Regions from separate parts of the Homo sapiens genome. Here region 2 is linked to region 1. Evidence: promoter capture Hi-C in human tissues and cell types (Jung and others, 2019). All regions are on one chromosome and are shown on one strand. Each heading gives the region's core, a stretch centred on a gene start or on the middle of the fragment in contact. The rest is flanking DNA. Distances are from core to core; before and after follow the strand shown. Region 1 holds the start of SLA (Src like adaptor). Region 2 overlaps TG (thyroglobulin).

Region 1 (6,789 bases), core at 1-2,500:
GGTTACAACTGTGCCCTCTAAAGCCTAGAGAGAGTCCAGCGCACAGAAGCCTCTGAATAATCTATGTTGGAGAGATGCTGCATGGGTTAATGCTTGAATGACTCCTGACTTCACTGCTCCTTATGGTGTTAAGGGACAAGGACTTACTTCTCCATCAAGCACAGCTTGCTCAGGGCCAAGGGCTCACTGCACTTTTAGGAACTCACAAAAGTCTTTTCTTTCTAATTTCTTTTAAAATCAGAAGAAAAAATATAATAATAATGAAAATGTAATAATGAATCCAGCCTGGTTTACATTCATCCTTATAACAATGCAGTCATGAAATACAATATTTTAATATTTTGGGGGGGACAAGTCAGTCCTTCTGATCCTCAGCTTTCTCTGAACCATAATCCCAGCTCACAGGGCCCCTGGGGAGAATTAGACAACGTGACGTGTAAGCGTCAGCTGTGAGGGGTAATGTGGGGCTATAGCTCCAGGGTGGAGGGTTTACAGTGTGCAAGGGCATCCTAGAGCCATGAGACCTACAGGGCTCTCTGGGTGTTGGGAGATACCTCTTTCGCTTCTTATAACACTGCAAGAGACAGACAGGGTGGCTCTCACTGTGTCCATTTGAAGGCTAAAGAAACTGCAGCTCAGACCAGTTCAGCAACTCTCCTACATCGTGTGGCTAAAGCTAAGAATTGTGACCCATTTTTCTGAATCCAGGTCCCCGCGATGCCCTGGGTTCAGACCCTAACACCCTCCCGTCCCTGAGTGCTGGGGATTTAAGGCAGCAGTGCCTCCTTTCAGGAAATCACACACACACTGGAAACTCCTGCATACTCCTCTTACTATAATCTGTCACCAAAGACTGGATATTCCTGTGCTGGGGCTCGTGCCAGCGCCTCGGGCTGCCAGGTGCTGCTTTCCAACTCCCACATGGGCTGCCCTCCCCCTACTGCTACCCACAGGGCCCCCACTCCACCTGCTCCCAGACGAGGCCAACTCCTGGCCAAGCTTAGGGGCACAGCGGAGGCGCTCTGTTTCTGATTTTTCTCGCCTTCCTTGGAGATGCCTGTGCTTGGAAGGGAAGGCAGAACATTGCATCTTGGAACAAATCTGCTTTTGATCATGCAAATGAATGCCTGGATAATGTAGGCAGACTGTCAATTTCACCAGTTAGAAAGAAAGAGAAAAGGGGGAGAAATTCCCCATGACAGCGACTGATGAAGAATTTCAATAGAAAGCTGCTACTTCAGAAAATAAGATCATTTGCTGCGAATGGAGAACATCTCAGGCAGCCCTGATGCTCCACCGGTAGGTTGCTAACTTTGCTGTCATTGGGACCCCCTGGGTGGGCCATAGGTGGCCTGGGGTGGTATGTGGGGGAGGGTCTTCAGAGGGACTTGATGGATCCTGTACCCACCCTCCGTCTTTGGTCTGAAGAAAATGGGTGGGTCTCTGCTGGTGGTGAGTAGCTCCAGGGGGCAGGACTTGGGGTAAGAGGCTCCACTCCTGTCCCTCCGTGACTTCCCTGGGAAGCTGCACTGCATGTGTTTGTGGACTGGGATCCAGCTGATACTTATGCAGCGTTGGCATGAGTAGAGAGCATGCATTTGTGTTTACTACAATTTGGAAAATTGGTCTCAGGTCAGCTGAGGTGGTTCAGAGATTGGACGTTCTTTGTATTCCTGCTTTCTGTGTATAATTATCTGAAGAAGGGATAACAGCTTTGGACACTAATCTTAATATTAAAATTAAAAAATTAAGGGAAAAGAACGAACATTTATTGAAGCCAAACTATTTTCCAGATATTGTTGTGTATTTGAATTTTTGAACATCTTTATGAGGATATTTACTAATCATCTCCCAACTTCACAGATAGGGAAACTGAGGCTCAGACTCTGGGTAACTTGGATGCTCGTGATTGCAATCCAAGGACACCCAGGACACTCTCCCTGCTGTGTTGACACATGACCAAGGGAGCGGGGTCCTGGTCAGTTCCTGGCCATTGTGTCACTCCAGCTGACAGTGCTGCTATGGGGCCCAATGGCACCTGATCTCCACCTCCTGAGGTCTTGGAATAGATGTCCATCTCTCCATATAGTATGTATCAATGGTGTTTCAGTTGTTTGCCTTGTCTGTTATCATCTGACTGCAAGCCCTTCTGAGGGGAGGAATTCAATTTGTATTTTATGCTGAAACACCTGGCCCAGCATGACTAAACAAACAGGTGTTGGTGTTACAAAAACATGCTGGACACCCTGTTTAGGTGGATGTGGCAATTTACTGCAATTGATATGTCCTGTTTCTCAGCCCCAGATGGGGCAGGAGGGGCTGGGTGGGTATCAAAGGACAGAGGATGGAGTAAAAGGCATGGCTGAGATTGAGGCCCTCCAGAACCTGCCATCTTCAGGTCCTCCTTGGCTGATGGTGGTTGGACCCAGGTGCCATGGAGCCTTCTTGGGGCAAACAGAGAAATGCACAAGCCCAACTCTAAATTCAGGTTGGGAGTGGGCTGAGGCAAGGGAGGGCAATACAAGGGCACATTGGGTTGAAGTCCAGAGGAGTTTCCTCACTGTTGGGAGGGTGGGAGCATAGCTCATAACTCAGTTTCCACTTGGTTGTCCACTGTGCCCTCTTGCAGTTCTGTGTGGGGTAGAATCCTGAGGATCTCTCTAGGTGATGCTTGCGTATGGTGGGGGTAAGGTGGTGATAGCGCATCCCTGACCTAGTGTTTATCACAGATAGGGTAATGGGTAGAGCCTGCCACCCGCCACCCTCCCCACTCCTGCCCTGCAATTGGGGTCAGAGACCTGCAGTGGAGACTTGGCTTTCCAAAGGACTAGTTAGCTGACCTAGAGACACCCGGTAAACCTCACTAAGCCTTTCTTTCCCAGAAAAAAAATCGTGTTAAATACTGGTTCATGGTTCCCTACCTCACAGCCATACAGTTGAGATAACGTAAAGTAAGAGCATGAGTTACTTCACTTAGGCTAACCCCTAAGGCTATTGAAATTTTAAAATTATAAATAAATCAATAAATGACTACAGAAAAAAAAGAATGTGGGTAGAATTGGAAAGCCCTTTGCACATAGTAGCCTTTATTCTAGCTGGGTTTGTGTACATTTCAGTACCCAGCATACCGTTGATGGTAGATGGAAGGCTCTCAGAGGAAAGCCTGGCTTTTCCCAGAGTGACGTCATGGGAAGAGGATATTTGGAGGCAGATAGAACTGGGTTTTAATTCTGGTTTCTCTCTGAAAAATAGTAATAATAATCCCCACCTCATAGGGTAATAGTTGTGAGGGTGAATTATTTCATTGAAGACTTCCAGGTTAGGGCCCAGCACATAGTCAGTTCTTCATAATTTCATTCATTCATCCTAGTGAATGTCTATTGTGTGCCTGCTGTGTGCAATTTGTCTAGCAGAACTAGAAACATTTCTAGGCACCAGAGATATAGCAGTTTCAAACATTCTAGTTGGGGAAGAAAGACAACAGACAAATACATAATATGGCAGGAGGTTTGAGTGCTGGGGTAGGGTGTAGGATGTAGGGATAGAGAAGGCTGGGGATATGGCTTCCCTCTGAATCCAAGTGGTCAAGCAAGGTCTTTCTGATAAGCAGACCCTGAAGGGAGTAAGGCAGTGAGTTGTCTGGGAAGAACATTCCAGAAGAAAAAACAGCAAGTACCAGGACCCTGATATGGGATGTGCTCAGCCTATTTGAGAAACTCTAAAGGGATAAACCAGTGAGCCAAGAGGGAACAGCAGGAGTTAAGGTCAGAGAGCTAACAGAGGTCACATCAAATAGGCTCTGGCAGTTCATAGAAGACTGGAATTTTCCTCTGCATGAGAGGAGGCCACTGGAGAGAAGGCTTGGAGCAGAGGAGTAAAATGGTCTGACTTATAAAGGGATTGCTCTGGCTACTGTGCTTCTCATAGATTATAAGAGGCAAGGCAGGTGCAGAGAGAGAGTTGGGGGCTAGCACAAAAATCTCAAATAAAGTGGCTGGATCAGGGTGATAGCAGAAGAGGTAGGGGAGCAGGGTTTGGATTTGGGATACATTTGGAAAATACAGCCAGCTGGATTTTCTGATAGAATGCTGGTAGGGTATGAGAGAGCAGTGTCAGGAATGACTTTTGGTTTTGAGCCTGAGTACAGAAGGATGAGTTGTTTAGTTGCTGAGTTGTTTACTGAGATGGTGAAGACTACAGAAGAACATGCTGGTTGGGGATGGGAGCAGAGGTGGAATCGGCAGTCCACTTTGGGTGTGTTATGGATGAGACACTATGAGACATGTAAGTGAAGATGTCAAGTGGGCCATTGGCTAAACCAGTTCAGAGTTCAAGGGAAAAGTCCAGGAGGAATAAATCTGTGTGCAGACACATGTTTAGGAGATGATTGCATGCAGTGGCACTGAGCTGTGAGCTGGCTTCCAGTCCCACCGTCACTACTCTCCTGCTGCAGGTAGTCCTCCTCATCAATTAGCACCTAGATGAGTTCTTGGCAGGATGCAGGCTCACAAAAGCTGCTCAGTGGCTTCACTAATGCGTGTCCCAAGGGAATGAATGAAGAAGCGAAGCCAGAAACGAACGGTCTAACCAATGAACAAATGTGCTGGGGGAACACTGCCCTGTGATTGGTGTCTGGGATGACCGCCATGGAGCAGGGCTAGCAGCTGCTCTGCTGTGCCCTTAGAGAGGCTTCTCTATTTGGGGGTGCCCAACTTCAATGCTGGCTTCTCCAGCCAGGCCCCTGTTTGGCAGTGAGCCTCCTGCTGGTGGCCCCATCTTTCTTTGCAAGTAAACAAAGTAAGCTTTCCTTAAAAACCTTAGAGGGAAGCTCAATGAGAAGAATGCAAATGCATCCTTGAGTAGAGATCCCAGTCCTCTGGATTCAGGTCTCTGGCTGGACTGGTTAAGGAATTCAGGACAAAGTTAGGAAACTTCTAGACACTCCTGGGACCGTGCTTGAACCAGGGAAGCCCAAGGCAGCCATGAGCCCACAGTCATCCCTCTCACAATGAACGGGCATAATCAGAAAACATGAGCCTGGGCTACCCTCTGAACACCATGGTCCCAGATCTGCCAACAAGAACAACCCCCTCACCCTCCCTGATGGATGGCATTTCCACTGAGTTGGGAGAGGTCTGGGAACTAACCACAGGGCCGCCCTCCTCCCTAGCCCCATCAGCCCTTTCTAGGCTGATCCCAAGGCTCCTGGGAATATAAAATTAGTTCTTCCTCTCTTTCAAAAGTCGAAGATGGCCATGAAAAGTTTTCAGTACATGGTCCAAAGAACCAGAGCTGTGAGGACATGGTGTCTTGTGCACAGAGATTTTGCATCCCCTGTAGGAGGGTATCAAATAAGGAGGTGAGTGGGAAATTGTCCCTGGTCAATGGCCAGCTCCATCCCAGTCTGCCCATGCCTCAGAGTACTGTCTCCAGGGCGGACAGTGTTTAGGGGCAGCAAGAGAATACTAAGACTAGAACTTCCATTTCTTTCTCTTGCTTTAACATTCTTTTGATTCAATAAAGGGTTTATAATAATTCAGGGTATTAGTACAAGAGTACACATGTATATAATTTATACTTAAATAACTAAACTTACTATTTCTTAACTGATGAGGGGCTTGATCAGAAGCAACTTGAGGATCCCTGTTTTAGAGACTACAAACTCTGAGGCAGTGGAGGAGAGTGGCACATTTCCAGTGATTCCTGAATGGTTGTCTTGTCCAATAATAAAATCTCAGCCCCTCAGGGTAAGGGCTATGCTGTATGTGAGTGCTTGGCAGAAAAAATGTTGAAATGGATCAGGTACAAAAGGTATTTTGCCCTGGCTGTGAGTTAGCTAGATGCAAGCTGAGGGTGACTAAGTTTTACTTGACACCCCCCCTTGCAACACACACACACTCACTCATACACCCTCAGAGAGAACTCTATCGCTGCTCACATGCCACACCCACCTTCCAGATAGGAACCTTCAGAAATCAACTTCACATGCAAACCTCACCAGCCCTGCTTCTTTCTCTCTCTCTACATACACACGCACACATAAATATATATAATATGTAACACATTATGCATGTGTGTATATATATACAGCAATAGTAATAATGCATAATATTCTTTCTCACATCTCTACATCTCCAGAGGTAGCCAATGTTAATTGCATGTTGTGAATCTTTTTACTCAGTTATCCTTCTATGCAGAAAAACATACAAATATACACACTTACAAATATAAAGATATATACAGGTTGGTTTTTAAAAATATGAATGCTATCTTAATTTCACATTCCTCTACATGTTTTTTGTCATTTTACAATGTGTCAGAGGCATCACTTAAGCCAGTAGAGATAAATCTAGCTCATTCTTTTTAATATCTGCATAATATTTAATAGCTTGTTTGTATCTTAATTTAGTCAACCATTTCCCTGTTAATGGACATTTGAGTTGCTTCCAATTTTTTGCCACAATAATCAATGCCACAATCAATCAATAAACAATGCAATGCAATAAATACTCTTGTATATATATCATGTAAAACTGGAGCTTTTATTGCTGTAGGATAGAGTCCCCAAGGTGAAATATATTACCCAAAGGAAACAGGATTATCCAAAGGAACTCAGGATCCTGTTTGGTTGCTTTCATGATTTAATAAAATTCCGGTTAGACTGCCTTATATTCAACAGAGCCAACAGAGACCCATGTCATGCATGTGCAGGGGAAGGTGCACTCCACCCACGCCCAGAGTTGTCCTCTCTTTGTGCTTTATGCACACTGGGCTTCCCTGTAGGCTTGA
Region 2 (6,789 bases), core at 1-2,500, 220 kb after region 1:
GGGCGTCCACACACCAGCAGGGCCCTTCCGTCTGGCACTGCACCGCCTGATAGTCGCCATTTCGGCGGCAGCTTGGAACATAGGGGTGACCAAAGCTGGTTGCTGTAAACCGCTCCACTTCACATTTTGTGGGGCCTAGAGGAAATCCACACAGTAAAGAAGACAGTGTCAACAATGCTTGGTGTCTTCACAGCATGCACTGCTGTTTGCTCTTAACGATTCTTTTCATCTCTGCCCTCACTTTGGTGGAGCAGCCACACACACCATAGCAACTTTGAAACCCAAGAGGCGTCCCCCTAATGGAAACACGCACATTGTTGGCAGTTTATTACTTACATCGGAATCTGCCAGAGATGACTGATTGAACTGCGAGGAACCGTCTCTGCAGTATCCGGTACAGGGTGGTTTCAGTGAAGGTGGAAGGAAGGTCCAGGCCAGCAAAAATGGTGTCATAAATTTCATCCAGTAACAACTCCAAACCTGAGCAAAGACAGCAAGACTTTCAGAGATGGTCTCATTCAGAAAGGAAGCCCTGACCTTGTTGTGCAAACAGATACTGAGAGAGACAGCCTTCACCAGCATCATTAGGCAATAAGTCTGAACAACACTTTAACAGTTTCCAAAGTCAGAGCTGCTGTGGATGGTTGTGCAGGCTGTTCATAGAAACAAAGGAGCAGTGCTTATAGAATAAGAGATTAAATCCATCCTGTGCTCCACTCGCCAATTTCGGGGCTGCATCTGCCCAGAGCGGGGCACTTCTTTCCAATGTGCACAAAGGCACTATGTGGGCCAGCAGCAGCTGCATTCACCATACTGCAAGATGACAGTTTGCTAAGGTTGTGTCCTCCTCAATGCCCACAGCAGCCTGGCAGGGGGCAGGCAGTCACTCTAGCTGTGCTTTACAAGCAATGTTATCCAGGTTTTCAGACCTGAGGAATCACACTCCCTCCCTTCAGATCACCTGAGGGGTATCACTCACCTGTCTCAGCCAGTTCCCGCCCTTGGCTGTCAGCACAGTGGCAATACCCAGATACCTCAGGGAACCTCCTCTGGAAGGAACTGAAGGTCACAAATGCATCTGGAAACCTTGGAGAGAATGAGATTTACGGTCACCATTCATAAAGGCAAGTCATCACAAGCTTTTCCTGTAGAAATAAATGTGGCCAAGTCCACGCCTAGTGAAAAGGAATGTCTACTTTCTTATCACATGACAGTTGCTTCATGCTTCCTGCAGTAAATGCATTTCCTTTACAAATTAGTTTAACCTGGCTGGAACCAGGCTGGACCTTGTAAAATAAAGCTGTGCATAGCTGTCGTCTAACAATTAGCCGTTTTCCTCACTTATGGCATTTGACCAATTTATGCCCATGCGTTTGTCTCATAGGGCAAGGCAGAAAGCAGTCAAGGAAAATCGCATTAACTGGTTCCTTTCCTGGAATACAGCTCTCGAGACTAAAGGCCAAGTCTGCTTTACAAACATATGGTACATTGGAGATTATCTCATTTTGGGAGATCAAATGACTTCAGGCCCCTTTACGACTTTTCAAAAGCTTGAAAAGAAGCCAGCTGCCACCACAGGAAATCCTTAAGAAGGAAATGTATCCAGTCCCATAGTTGAAAAAAAACACAAATCAATACAGCATCACTAACAAGGGCTATCCATCTCTTTCCGTAAACTGAAGAAAGAGATTCTCTAATCACATCTGGCCTGGCAATTGTTATAACGAGCTCATCAACTGGGTTCCCTTTCTTAGAAGTAATAGAAAGGTAAGGTATAAAAAGCCATATTGAGGAGTTCTACCCCTGTGCAATGATTTAGCAACCAGAGAGGAACTGTTCATCTTTTATAACATTTAGAGATTTGTTTTCATGCCCTATATAACTATATAACTAATATATGAGGTCCAAGCATAATGTGTTTCTACCTATGTCTGAAATATATCTCCCAGCAATAAGTTAACGGAAGCAGCAGCTGTGTACAATGATAGGCCAATTGCTGTGCAATCTATTCTAGCAAAATATTGAAAAGAACCTTAATGTCCAATAGTAGAAAATTAAGAAGTAAATTATAGTAAATGCCCTAAATATAATAAAATGCTATGATTGAGGACAATGCTTAAAAATTCTAGCCAAAAGGGAGTGTGTATAACATTATGTAAAAAGGTTAGATTATAAAATGCCATATACATGTATTGCAATTACAACTGTACAACTGAATCAGTATTGGAAGTCAATGTGTGGTGTAGTAATTGCTGAGAGCCTGGCTTTGAATTTCCATTCAAGTTAATAACTATTATTTAATTTGAATGGAAATGGATATGCAAAACAAAAGCTAGAAATGCACTATAGGATTATGGATGAGGTTTTTTTCCATGCTATTAATCTATTGTTCTGTGTATGTGTGTTAAACAGAATGTTACAGTAAGCGTGTTGCATAACAAATATTAAAAACTCACTTTGCTTAGTTGCCACTAATAGGGAGGTAGGGGGTATATAATAAAAGTTCATTCATCAGAGCCTAGGATAATTCAATTTTAAAAATACTCATAATAGTATAATAATAACTTTTATTTACTGAGCACTACTTTGTAAAAGACTATCTGCAAAATGTTTTAATACACATTGATTCATTTAATCCACCTAACACTCCTAAAAGGAAGGTGGTACATTTTAATCCCCCTTTTAGAGATTAAGAAGGTGAGGTATATGGGCCACTGTCTTGAACTAGTGGTGAGAACTAGGGTTCAAACCCTGGTCTCATCCACTACATGCTGCCTATCTCTGCCAGTGGTGTTATTCAGTGTGTTTTTGGCTGCACCTGGCTTCTGTCCTACATCCTGCCCTGCAAGGCATGTGACTCTGTCTGACACTGCTCCATATGCCCAGCACCTCGCTCTTCCTGGCATCTCATAGATGTTGATGACACAAGTGCTGGCCCGAGGTGGGTTCTGAAACACATTCCAGCGTGAGGCACAAGTTTAAATCGTTTAAATCACTCTAGTTCCATGCTTCGCTAATTCAACCCAGAGACCCACCTCAACATCCTGGCTCATGGCAGACATGACCTCCACAGTCTTTGAGCCATCTTCATCCTACCACTTTATGGTCAGAGCCCCTCTCTGGGGGTTTCTGGTCTTATAAACTGCCCAGTACCTGGACCTACCAGTGTTTTTTGCATGGACCTCACTCTTGATATTCCTGCTTCCCGCACATTGGAGATCACCCTGTCTTCAGCTCTGGAGAGGGTCCTCCCACCCTCCCAGTAAGATCACCCTAAGGCCAGTTACTGCCTTCTGGGCTCTCTAGGGCTGTTCTTTGCTGACCTCTAGGACAGACACCCTGTGCTGCCATCTTTAATCCCTTCTTGCTAATTCTGTATATAGTGAGAAGAGCTAATATGATTGTTGCTATTAATTACTATTCATAAAATAATCACAAGTGATATGTATGAACAATCAGACCAAACACTCTCCATATTTGTCTCATTTAATTCTCACAACTCTTTAAAAATCTCCACTTCCCAAATGAGAAAACTGGGATTCTGCATGGTGATGTGACTGGGTCAAGATCATCCAGCCAAGACCAGGGGCCAAGAATCCCAAGTCCATTTCCAGTGCTCGTTCAACAACAGCAGGTGGCCAAAGGGTGAGACTACCACTCCAATAGAGCACAGTCCTTTGGGGGCCCTGCCCTGCAATCACCAGTGATTTCAAGCTCTGAATCTTCCCAATTTCCTGTGTGCCCACAATTCCATTTGATACAATTTGATTTCTGTGGCTAATTTCTGAAATGATATCACCATCTATGCATTTTGGACTCCTTCTCCAAAATAATAATTAGCACCATGAAGATTGTTTAGCTGTTATTCTGCTACTGTCAGTAGTGATTCACTGTCATCAGGGAACAGGGGTTCTGTCATGCTTTCAGCCTCCTCCTTATTAGATCTCCTGCCCCACATCAACCAAAAGAAGTCAAACTACTGAGACCGAACCCAAAGCCCTGATGAAAGCTGGAGAGTCAGGCTCCATCCCTAGCCTTGGGCCAGCTGGACCAAAGAATGTCCCCAAAGGAGGTGAGTTTGAGTGGGATTCTAAAGCCACGAATGGTGATTTGACCAGGAGATAACAGAGGAGTGAAGAACATATCTAGAAGGGTCGTTTGCATGCCTCCAACTTCAAGGTGGGAGACAGAACCAAGGTGTGGGCAGCAAGGAAAACTGAGATATTGGTAGTCACCGAGGGAGGTACAAGTCTGGTAGAGAATGCCAGGACCCAACATTCGCAGCCTCTGAAATACAGCACCTGGAGACACTTTTTGTTTTTTTTTTGTTTTTTTTTTTTGAGACAGAGTCTCGCTCTGTCACCAGGCTGGAGTGCAGTGGTGCGATCTTGGCTCAAGTGATTCTCCCAGGTTCAAGTGATTCTCCTGCCTCAGCCTCCTAAGTAGATGGGACCACAGGCACCCACCACCACACCCAGCTAATTTTTTGTATTTTTAGTAGAGACGAGGTTTCACCATCTTAGCCAGGATAGCGTCAATCTCCTGACCTCGTGATCTGCCCGCCTTGGCCTCCCAAAGTGCTGGGATTACAGGTGTGAGCCAGCGCGCTGGACCTGAAGATGCTTTTTATAGGCATTGGCCTTTGGAAACCACTGGTCCTTCAGCAGCAGGACATTGTCAAGTCAGATGGTCCCCTGTGGCATACAGTGTTCCCCCCTTCATGAGGACCCGAGGAACCAAGTTCCCTCCATCATCAATAGAAGAAAACATTGTGACCCCTGAGAAACTCTTATTTTTATCTTGTAGAAACCAAGTAACTTAGACTATTTTTTTCTTTTCTTTGGTTACAGGGATCCCAGAGCCAAATATGCAGCCCCTCACATTTGTTAGGACTGTGTAGAATGAGTGATGTGGGCCAATCTTTGCCTTGCCTTATTCTGATTTTCTACTTTTATTTTGCCTTCCTCATGATTCCCTCTAATTTCCATTTTTATCCTGTTTTGGGCATATCAGAAGAAAGGAGGAAGACAAAATCTACACAATATTTAAAAATTGAAAAATACCATATTTTGGACTACCACTCCAACAGAGCAATCACCAGTGAGTTCAAGCTCAGAATCTTCCTAATTTTCTGTATGCCCACAATCTAGTGGAAAAGGATGTTTGCCTTTTGTTGAATAAAAAGCAAAATCTCAGGGTGGCCATAGAAGAATCCTCAAGAAAGCAAATGCTAGCAGAGGGGCAAGGGGTGGCATTTCTGAGTTTATGCTCAGATTACAGCCAACCTAGACAGAGAAATTACAACCAAGGCTCAGAGGAATGCGAAATTCTGGTCTCCACTGGGCATCTGGTCTTGTTCATTCGCAGAGTACGATTCCTGCCTCCGGGCTCAGTCAGATTCTCTAACATCTCCCACAGGCAGTTCTTTGGAAATCTAAACACTGACTCACAAATGAGCCATGTATTTCATTCTGTCCTGCACTAGGGAGGGTGCTCCTTAAAAGAGCGGGCCGTACCGGGCATGGCTCACACCTGTAATCCCAGCACTTTGGGAGGCTGAGGTGGGTGGATCACTTGAGGTCAGGAGTTTCAGACCAGCCTGACCAACATAGTGAACCCCGTCTCCAGTAAAAACACAAAAATTAGCCATGTGGGGTGGCGCATGCCTGTAATCCCAGCTACTTGGGAGGCTGAGGCAGGAGAATTGTTTCAGCTTGGGAGGCAGAGGTTGCAGTGAGCTGAGATCCCATCACTACAATCCAGCCTGGGTGACAAAGTAAGACTCTGTCTCAAAAATAAAATAAAATAAAATAAAATAAGAGGGGGCCGTAGCCTAGCAGAGCGCCTGATGCATAGCCAACCACCACAGGTGTCTGTAATGAGGGTGATCTGGTGCTTCCCCAGTGAGGATTTCTCCATACAGTACCTTCCACATTCTGGTTACAATGCCCCTTTACCATATATTAAGACACATCTGATCCTTCTTCCCACTGGGCAATCTGGGTAGCATGGGTGGCTAAGGCATTTGAAGTTAGACTGGTTGCTAAGAAGTTTGAGTGTGTTTAGTCATTAAGGACAAGGGTTAATAAAGAAGCCAATTAACTCAGATCATTAAGGCTTTGACAATGGCATTAGCCCTGCTTGAAGGCTCTTAAGACCTTTACTTATGATCTGCTTGGTCAGAATGTGTGTCCACAGTTACTGGTTGGGCTAGGGCAATATAAAAGATGGGGCATGAGTCAGAAGGACCAGTGAAGCTTGCTCCCCATTACAACATGGTTCTTTAAAATTTTCCAGCCAAACAGATATTGTAAGCAGTAGCCTTCTTGAAGGGCAAAAGGACCTACTTCAGATGGGCAAACATCATTGCCAAATTCAAGTGCAAACCATCACCCAGCACATAAATAACTCACAGCAGCAGGTCAGCGAATGAGCTGCCCACAGGATTCCAGCCTTCTGGTGGCCCCAGGGAAGTAACTGCCTTCTGCCACTTCTCCATTTTAATTTTCAAAAAAAATCCCCTTAGATTCAACATCCCAAAACAAAGCTTGTGGCTTTTCCTTTTCAAATTTATCCTCAAGAATCCATCCAGAAACCAGACCTAGGAGTCATTCTTGACTCCCCCCGACCCTCACCTCCATATCAATTCCTTCACCAAGTTCTGTGGATTCCACCTGGTAAATATTCCTCCAGTCTCACCCCATCTCTTGGCTGTCCTCTCCGACACTTGCTCCATGTCAACGTCGTCTCTTGCCTGGACTAGTGCAGTAGCCTCCAAACTCGGAGGGC

The links. Contacts are between HindIII fragments. The study calls those that stand out against the background at their distance.
Region 2: a contact is called between a fragment that was not itself captured here and the fragment with the promoter of SLA in region 1, in 1 of the 25 tissues and cell types used here (bladder).

What each region holds. Positions count from the first base shown.
Region 1 is chr8:133,097,063-133,103,851 of GRCh38, reverse strand. It overlaps SLA (Src like adaptor), which reads left to right and starts at 1,250. Exons shown (of 9, transcript NM_001045556.3): 1 at 1,250-1,299. The region is part of intron 43 of TG (thyroglobulin); the gene reads right to left. The HindIII fragment of the contact is 8,125 bases long and covers 1-2,901 here.
Region 2 is chr8:132,876,160-132,882,948 of GRCh38, reverse strand. TG (thyroglobulin) reads right to left here. Exons shown (of 48, transcript NM_003235.5): 6 at 980-1,086; 7 at 337-480; 8 at 1-135. Among named protein-coding and RNA genes, the nearest start is that of TG, 13 kb to the right of the region's middle. RefSeq lists enhancers at 1-25, 26-527. The HindIII fragment of the contact is 5,308 bases long and covers 1-3,904 here.